Regions from separate parts of the Homo sapiens genome. Here region 2 is linked to region 1. Evidence: promoter capture Hi-C in 16 types of primary human blood cells and fetal thymus (Javierre and others, 2016). All regions are on one chromosome and are shown on one strand. The core of a region is centred on a gene start or on the middle of the fragment in contact, and the rest is flanking DNA. Distances in the headings are between cores, read along the strand shown.

Region 1 (3,466 bases), core at 672-3,171:
CATTTAGACCTTAATAGGTCCTGTTATGACTCCTGCATAATAAATGAGAAATTAGGGCACAGAGTGATTAACCATCTCAATGTTATGTGAGCAAAGATAGGAAGATAAGAAGCACGACCCCGTAACGAACTACAAACAGTTCAGAATTATAGTGGTTTGCCTATCAAAGTTTCACTAACAAGTGATGAAACTGAGGGCTACATACAGCCAGACAGAGAAAGACTTTCTATATTATAGTAACAGGGATTCCTTTTTTATATATAAGCTACAAATACCATGAGTTTCTGCCATTTATATCTTTCCCTCCTATGAAATGCTGTTTATTCACTCATTTAAAATCATTTTATGTACCAGGTAAAGTGTTAGGTTCTGGTTATATAACAATAACCTAAGCAGTTCTAATCCATATCATCACGGACCTAAGAGTCAGAATCCATGTGCTCTCTTAAAGTTTAACAGACGAAACCACCTGAGTCTAGTCAATAAGTACATTCTAGCACACCACTTATGATTTGAGAATACTCATTCACTTACTTATTGCTTCCGCAAAATTTAATAAGACTCTACTATGTACCAAGCACTATTTTCAGTGATAGAAATACAACAAAGCACAAAACAAAGCTCACTGACTTCATGATATTAACCTTTTGGTTGGAGGGCAGAGAAAACAAAAAACATAAATGATATAAATTCTGATAGTGATAAATGCTGTTAAAAAATTAAACAGGTAAGAGAACAGAATGTTAGCATGATAGGTATGCAAGTTTAGAGAAAAATGTTTCAGGTTTTGGGGAAACCAAGTAGATATATATATATGCACAACTGTAGTTTGAAAATGAGTATGTTCCCATTGATCAAAAACTCTTTTAGGTGGAGTAAGGATTCTGTGTCTTTTCATTCATTCAGAAGCATTTGCTTGCCTAATCTACTTTATACATGTCACAATAAGAAAGCAATCATTAGAAGGAAAATGGAAGGTTTTAATCAGTCTTAAAACCTAAATATAAATGAAGAAAAACATTACAGGAAAAATGCTCTATTTCTCCATCTCTCCATTCCCCTCCCTCTCTCTCTTACACACACACACACACACACACACACACGACAATCAGAAGAGCATCTGGCCATTCATTCATGGTACCCAGATTTGTGCTTCTTGGTCTTTAACAGGTTTCTCAGGATGTCCCCACATTCAAACACTCTGTGTGGCATCTATCCTGATCTTCAACTTAGAAAATATACTCATTATTCCTTGTAAGTAGAACTCTGCACAGCTGCATACAGAAGAGCGTCTCGGCAGGGAACAGTGCAGGTTCACAAAGGGGCCGATAAAACATATAATTTTAGCTTTGGTAATTGCCCTTGAAGATTACAATAAGAGGAGGAAAATAAGGGCCAAAGAAACAAAAGATTTGCCCGTGATTTGATAGCTGGTTTCGTCACATATTATGTTGCTTATCCCACAGAATGTGGGAATCCCAGAAAGCGCCCCGTTTAAATTTAGACCGTATTTTTAGCAGGGTCCCTTTAACAGAGATTGCGGGAACCTGGGAAGGAACTGAACTGGGCTAACCAAACCGGTCGAAATGAGCACAGGGATTAGATTAGAGCACAGAAATTCTGGCTAGCAGTCTGAGAAAGGGGGCCAAAGCCAGCCCAGAGAAAAGGGAGGTTGCCTGGGCCAAAGGCTTTCTGACAGGAGACACAATAGGGTCGTACCTCTGGGTCTTACCTTCACTGAGGTTTCTACCCGACAGGTTTAACTGGCCGCTCTTCCTCGCTGCCTTCAACAGCCCTTGGGGTACCGAGGTACCGCAGTCTCTTCCACCTGCTTTGAAACCAGCGCGGAGATCCTGCCCCGCTATCCGCTTCAGGCGCGACATGTTCAAAGTCCTAGGTCCAGAAGCTGCAGCCCCACCCGTGACGCTTAAAGGTGGCGCCGTTGGGATGCCCCGCTCCTTTCGTGAGCGCGCGCTCTGGGCGCTGGGCTCGCGGCCTCGCGCTGGGCCTTCACTCTCTGCGGCGCAGTCCAGATGTCGTCAGCACCAGCGCCTGGGCTGGAGGACAGAGAAGCCTTTTCCGTTGCCGGTGCCGGCCTAGCGTCCTGGAATTACTTCAATCAAGTAAGTGCGTTTAACGGGCTTAAGAGGGGCTTTCGGGTTTATTGTTTGCACTGTTACTGCGACTCCAACCTTCTCCTCTGTGCTTCCACCGTGGCGAGGGTGTGGGGAAAGAGAACCCTCTCTTCTCCCCTCTCCTAGTCTGAACGTGGGCCTTGACTAAAACTTGAGATCTGGGCGCGGTCGGCAGCGTTTCTGGACCCCAGCCTGTGTTTGTCGCTTGTGGTGGTGGCGCCAGACCTCTGGCGTACGGAGTAAAAGAAATTTTCTGTTCTTAAGGCTTGTACTCTGACACCATTCTCGTTGTATTGAGGGTATATAGCTTACCCAGCAAAGGAGGTAATGTGAAATGGAAGGACTGGCAACATAGAAGACAAAAACAAAAATCCTTAAAATTTAATAAATGTTCTGTGTATCAGACAGTTTAGGGAGACAAGTAGTGGTACATGCTTTAGTGAAGCTCAGACAGCTTGGATTTTTGAGCCCTAAAAAGCAAGTTCAAATCTCAGCTGCTTCTTTACTTTAGAAACTGTTAACTTTAGGCAGTTTACTCAACCGCTTTTAAAGCTCATTCCTTTTTTTCATTACTTTGGGGATAATTCCTACCGCATAAGGTTTTTGAAATAAGTGAAGATAAAAACTAGAATCTTGAGCTCTCGGTGAGTCCAGAATAATAGCAAATGAAAATTTTGTTCAATGTAAGTCGGTGTTTCCTAGGAAATTAAAATTTTCATCTGAAATGTACAACTTCTTGATTCAACAAGTAATTATTAAGATTAATCCTGCCTAGTATGTGTACTATCCTGGGTGCTAGACTTTTCTTTTGCCTGAAATGATTTTGTTTTAAAAGCATATGCCAGGGAATACCATTCTAACCCCCATCAAGTCTACTGAGGATTGGTAGAATAGTTGAAAGCTAGGATGAAGGCCCTTTGATCAATTCTTCATCACGCACTTTTACCTGAGTCCAGGTTATTGCTACCTGTAAAATTCGGTTTTTAACTCTACCCTTTTTGTTCTTATTTCTGTGGAGTCCTTTACACTAATATCGAACAAGAGAAAGTTACCAATAGTTGTTACCCTACTAAAAAAGCAAAGAGTGGATTTTTGTCTTTTTTTTTTTTTTTTTTTTGAGACAAAGTCTGGTCTGTCGCCTAGGCTGGAATGCAGTGGCGTGATCCCGGCTCACTGCAACCTCCGCCTCCCAGGTTCAAGTGATTCTCCTGCCTCAGCCTCTCCAGTAGCTGGGATTATAGCCGCGCACCACCACACCTGGCTAATTTTTATATTTTTTAGTAGAGACGGAGTTTCGCCATGTTGGTCAGGCTGGTCTCGAACTCCCAGCC
Region 2 (3,778 bases), core at 97-2,596, 2.5 Mb before region 1:
GGATTTATGATCAGCTTCAACTAACATTCTAGTGTTCTTAGTGACTAAGTACAACAAGTATCACCTCAGAATTTATTCTTCTATTCCCCTCATATTACTAAGCTGTTAGAAGATCCAATTTATGGCATGTTGCTATTATATTCATTGTTTAATTTGGGTAGATTCTAATTTAATACAGGGACCCACATAATTGTATGGCTAGACTGTTGTGATCTACATCCTCATAAAATTTATCACAATATGAGCTCATACACGCAAATCTCACATTTATATCAGCAGTTCAAACCACATCAAACTTAAGACATAATATTTGAAGTCAGCAAAGCCACAGCCCACCTCTAACACTTCCTAAAAAATCCATTGCTAAATCTAGTTCACCAAGAAGATGGCATATGGGTAAATATTCTAGTGAGTCCTTTGCTGGTTTCCTGATGGTGCTACATAGACTCAGACAGAAGGAGAATTACTTGGAACTACCCAGAAAATGAGAAGAGCAAGGACTAGAAGCAAAGATTTGTGAGAAAGGGAAATGTCTTTTGCTTTACACTTTTTGGCAAATGATAAAAGGCAGCTTTAGTGACAGCAGCCAGATGGAGATCAAATGACAACTGTGAGTTCATAATGGTCTCCAGCATCCTGGCAAGCAGAGGGGCAGTAGGGGAAGTGGGAGGGGTCAGCTTTCCTGGTACTACAAGTCAATCTGGTGCACATCAGTGTTATCTGACGTCAGCTAAACCCAGTTCTGAGGCACTACATCGGGACCAGCTGCCACATACTGAAAGCACCCTGGCCTGCCTCTGTGCACTCCCTGAACTCCTCCTGCCCATAACATTTACAGGGTGCTACCAGTTAATTTATGTTCCCCACACCAGGGAGGATCCAGATGTCGAGGCTGCAGTTGCTGATTTGAAAGGAGCTCACAAATACAGGAAGCTCTCAGAGGATAAAAGAAAACATGAGTATTTTACAGTGAACTTGAGAAACTCATTGTTCTGTATTAAAAAACACGCACACGAGAAGTGTTTGAATAACATCAAGCCTGTTCCTTAGCATGCACAGAAACACATGATTCACATTATCAAAACTGCCTAAAAAGGCTGGTTGTGGTGGCTCACATCTCTAATCCTAGCACTTTGGGAGGCTGAAATGGGTGGATTACTTGAGGCCAGGAATTCAAGACCAGCCTGGTCAACATGGTGAAACTGCATCTCTACTAAAAATGCAAAAATTAGCCAGGCATGGTGGCGCAGGCCTGCAGTCTCAGCTACTCTGGAGGCTGAGGCACGAGAATCACTTGAGCCCGGGAGGCAGAGGTTGCAGTGAACCGAGGTTGCAGTGAGCCGAGTTCATGCCACTGCACTCCAGCCTGGGCGACAGAGCAAGACCCTATCTCAAACAAACAAGGAAACAAAAACAAAAACAAAAAACGGCCTAAAGATCTAAAATGCACTGATGGGGGAACCTCGGTTCATCTATAGTTAGAAAGGGAACATGTATATTGGATCTACCTGTGGCTGCCATCAAAATTCAGGGGAATTTTCACAGCAGTAAGGACGGACCAGGAAGTCCAGTCAGTACTTTTGCTGTTAGCAATGATGCCTCAAATGTTAGAGAAAATGGAAATAAATACAATATTTTACTTAGATGAAGGAATTAAGAACAAAGAAAATTAGAAAGGACATTGGAAAATGGGTGCCATCTAATTAATATTCATGGTGTCCTGCTACATGCAGTGTACTCTAAGTGCTGTGTGTATTTTGTCTCATTTGATTTTCATCATAAGTTTAAGAGACAGCGTTTGTCAGAAAAGAGGCAAAAGAGCTTAGATGGCTTGCCCAAGCCTGATTCCAGAGTCTGCATTCTGAACACTACACTCTGATGCCACGTGAACCACAGCTGTTCTAGAGAAGCATAATATGTGGTTAAGAATGTGAGATTTGCAGTCCCACAGATGTGCATTTGCATCTTGCCCTGGCCATTTAGCTAGGGGTCTTTTGAGTTAGTAACTAGTTTAACCTCTCCAGTAGGCTACAGCTTACTTAGCAATAAAATGAAGATAATAGTATCTATCTCATAGATTGTTGTGAGGGCTTAGTGACATCATGTAAATAAAAATTTACCATAGTGCTAAGCATGATAAGCATTTAGCAAATTAGTATTTTTTCTTCTTTTTATATTTTAAAAATTTATTTTAATTTTTTTAGAGATGGAGGTCTCACTGTGTTGCCCAGGCTGGTCTTGGACTCCTGGTTTACATGATGTCATGGTCTCAAGTGATCCTCCCTCCTCAGCCCCCTGAGTAGCTGGGATTATAGTCGCAAGCCACCATCCCAGCACAAATTAATATTCTTACTAATAAATAAAGCCTAGGGGAGGATCACTTGAGCCTGGGAGTTGGAGGCTGCAGTGAACTGAGATTGCGCCACTGCACTCCAGCCTGGGTGACAGAGGGAGACCCTGCCTAAAACAAACAAACAAAAACAAATAAACAAACTAAAATAAGGTCTGGTGGGGGTAGGGGAGGAAGTGTCTTTAAAGGAGCTGGCAGGCCTTGAATCTATTATAGTGTTGAGGACAGCATAACTTCTGAATTTTCTAAACATCTCTGGAAGCCAACTCACTGCTGCACACAGATTTCATGAGAAAATCTTCTAAAGGGATGCACATAGGTTGAAGTTTTGACATGTCTGAGTTTTGGAAATTATGCTAAGTGTCTTTTCATTAAACTTGGAGAAGAATGAAGGGCAATGCTCATATCATAGGTGACAACCTGAGAAAAAGTAAATTGCAGAGCACTGTAAAAACCCAGTGTTTAAGGACTCCTCATAGCTAGAACCAAATAAATTAGGATTTCCCCTGTGGTTAGATTTAAGGCAAATACAGCTTCAGGATCACAGATGGACTTGTTTTGATAGTTTACATAAAAGATATAAATCCAAACTTATAAAATGGAGTAGAGGGTCCAGTTGCTAGGGATAATTAGGGACACGCCAAATTAACCAAACTTAATTCAGATGGTCATTAAACAGTGACCCCACCTGGTTTTCAGTCGTTTTACCATCTGTTGTAGCTCCTTCTTCTCAGATGGGAGAGGTCTCACTAGCTCCCAGGTGTGACCTGTTTATTAAGACACAGTGCCAAATCATACTCCATAGCATTTGGTAACCAGACAATAAATTAAGGTTAATAAGGCAAGTTGTAACATAACTTCAACTGACCTATGGAAACAGATTGAAATGTTTGAAAATTGATATCAAAGCAGAGGAACATGAATGTTTTTTAAATTCTTTAGACACATTATCTGGTGATTGAATTTTTAAGGCCCAGAAAAATAACTTTTTTTGTGGTAAGGTAAGGTATTTGAGGTTTCTCAGTGACTGCGAAAAATATAGAGTAATTATAGAATAATAAAATTATTAAGTAAAAAATGTTAGAGCTGGAAGGGTCTTAGGGAACCAGACATTTCCCATTGTGACCAATATGCATGGCTCAGAGGCTATGGGGTGTATTGCAGGAGGGGAGTGAGGGGGAGCCTAAACTTGCCAATCCCTGCCCTTCACCCCCACTGCTATCCGGCTACTGCAGCCACAACACTTCCACTTTTATCTATCTATATGTGGGGATTATGCCTACTGTGGATTTTGGGGAAAGGGAGTTCTTTTCAAAATTAAAAAGAGTTCACAAATATTTGTCAAATGAGGAAACTGAGGAATGGCGAGGGTAAACAACCTGCTAAAGATTCTATCATTCAAGCCACATTCTTGGAGGGACATCACAT

What was found. The method cuts DNA at HindIII sites, captures the fragments that hold promoters and counts their contacts. A CHiCAGO score of 5 or more calls a contact.
Region 2: a fragment that was not itself captured here is called in contact with the fragment with the promoter of LRRC40 in region 1 in 1 of 17 cell types (neutrophils); the score reaches 7.7 in neutrophils.

Annotation. Positions count from the first base shown.
Region 1 is chr1:70,203,658-70,207,123 of GRCh38, forward strand. LRRC40 (leucine rich repeat containing 40) reads right to left here and starts at 1,922. Exons shown (of 15, transcript NM_017768.5): 1 at 1,733-1,922. The coding sequence starts at 1,883. It also overlaps a transcript of SRSF11 not described here. RefSeq lists enhancers at 1,516-1,575, 1,836-2,145. The HindIII fragment of the contact is 8,465 bases long and covers 1-3,466 here.
Region 2 is chr1:67,674,099-67,677,876 of GRCh38, forward strand. No RefSeq gene overlaps it. Among named protein-coding and RNA genes, the nearest start is that of GADD45A, 9.2 kb to the right of the region's middle. The HindIII fragment of the contact is 5,084 bases long and covers 1-3,778 here.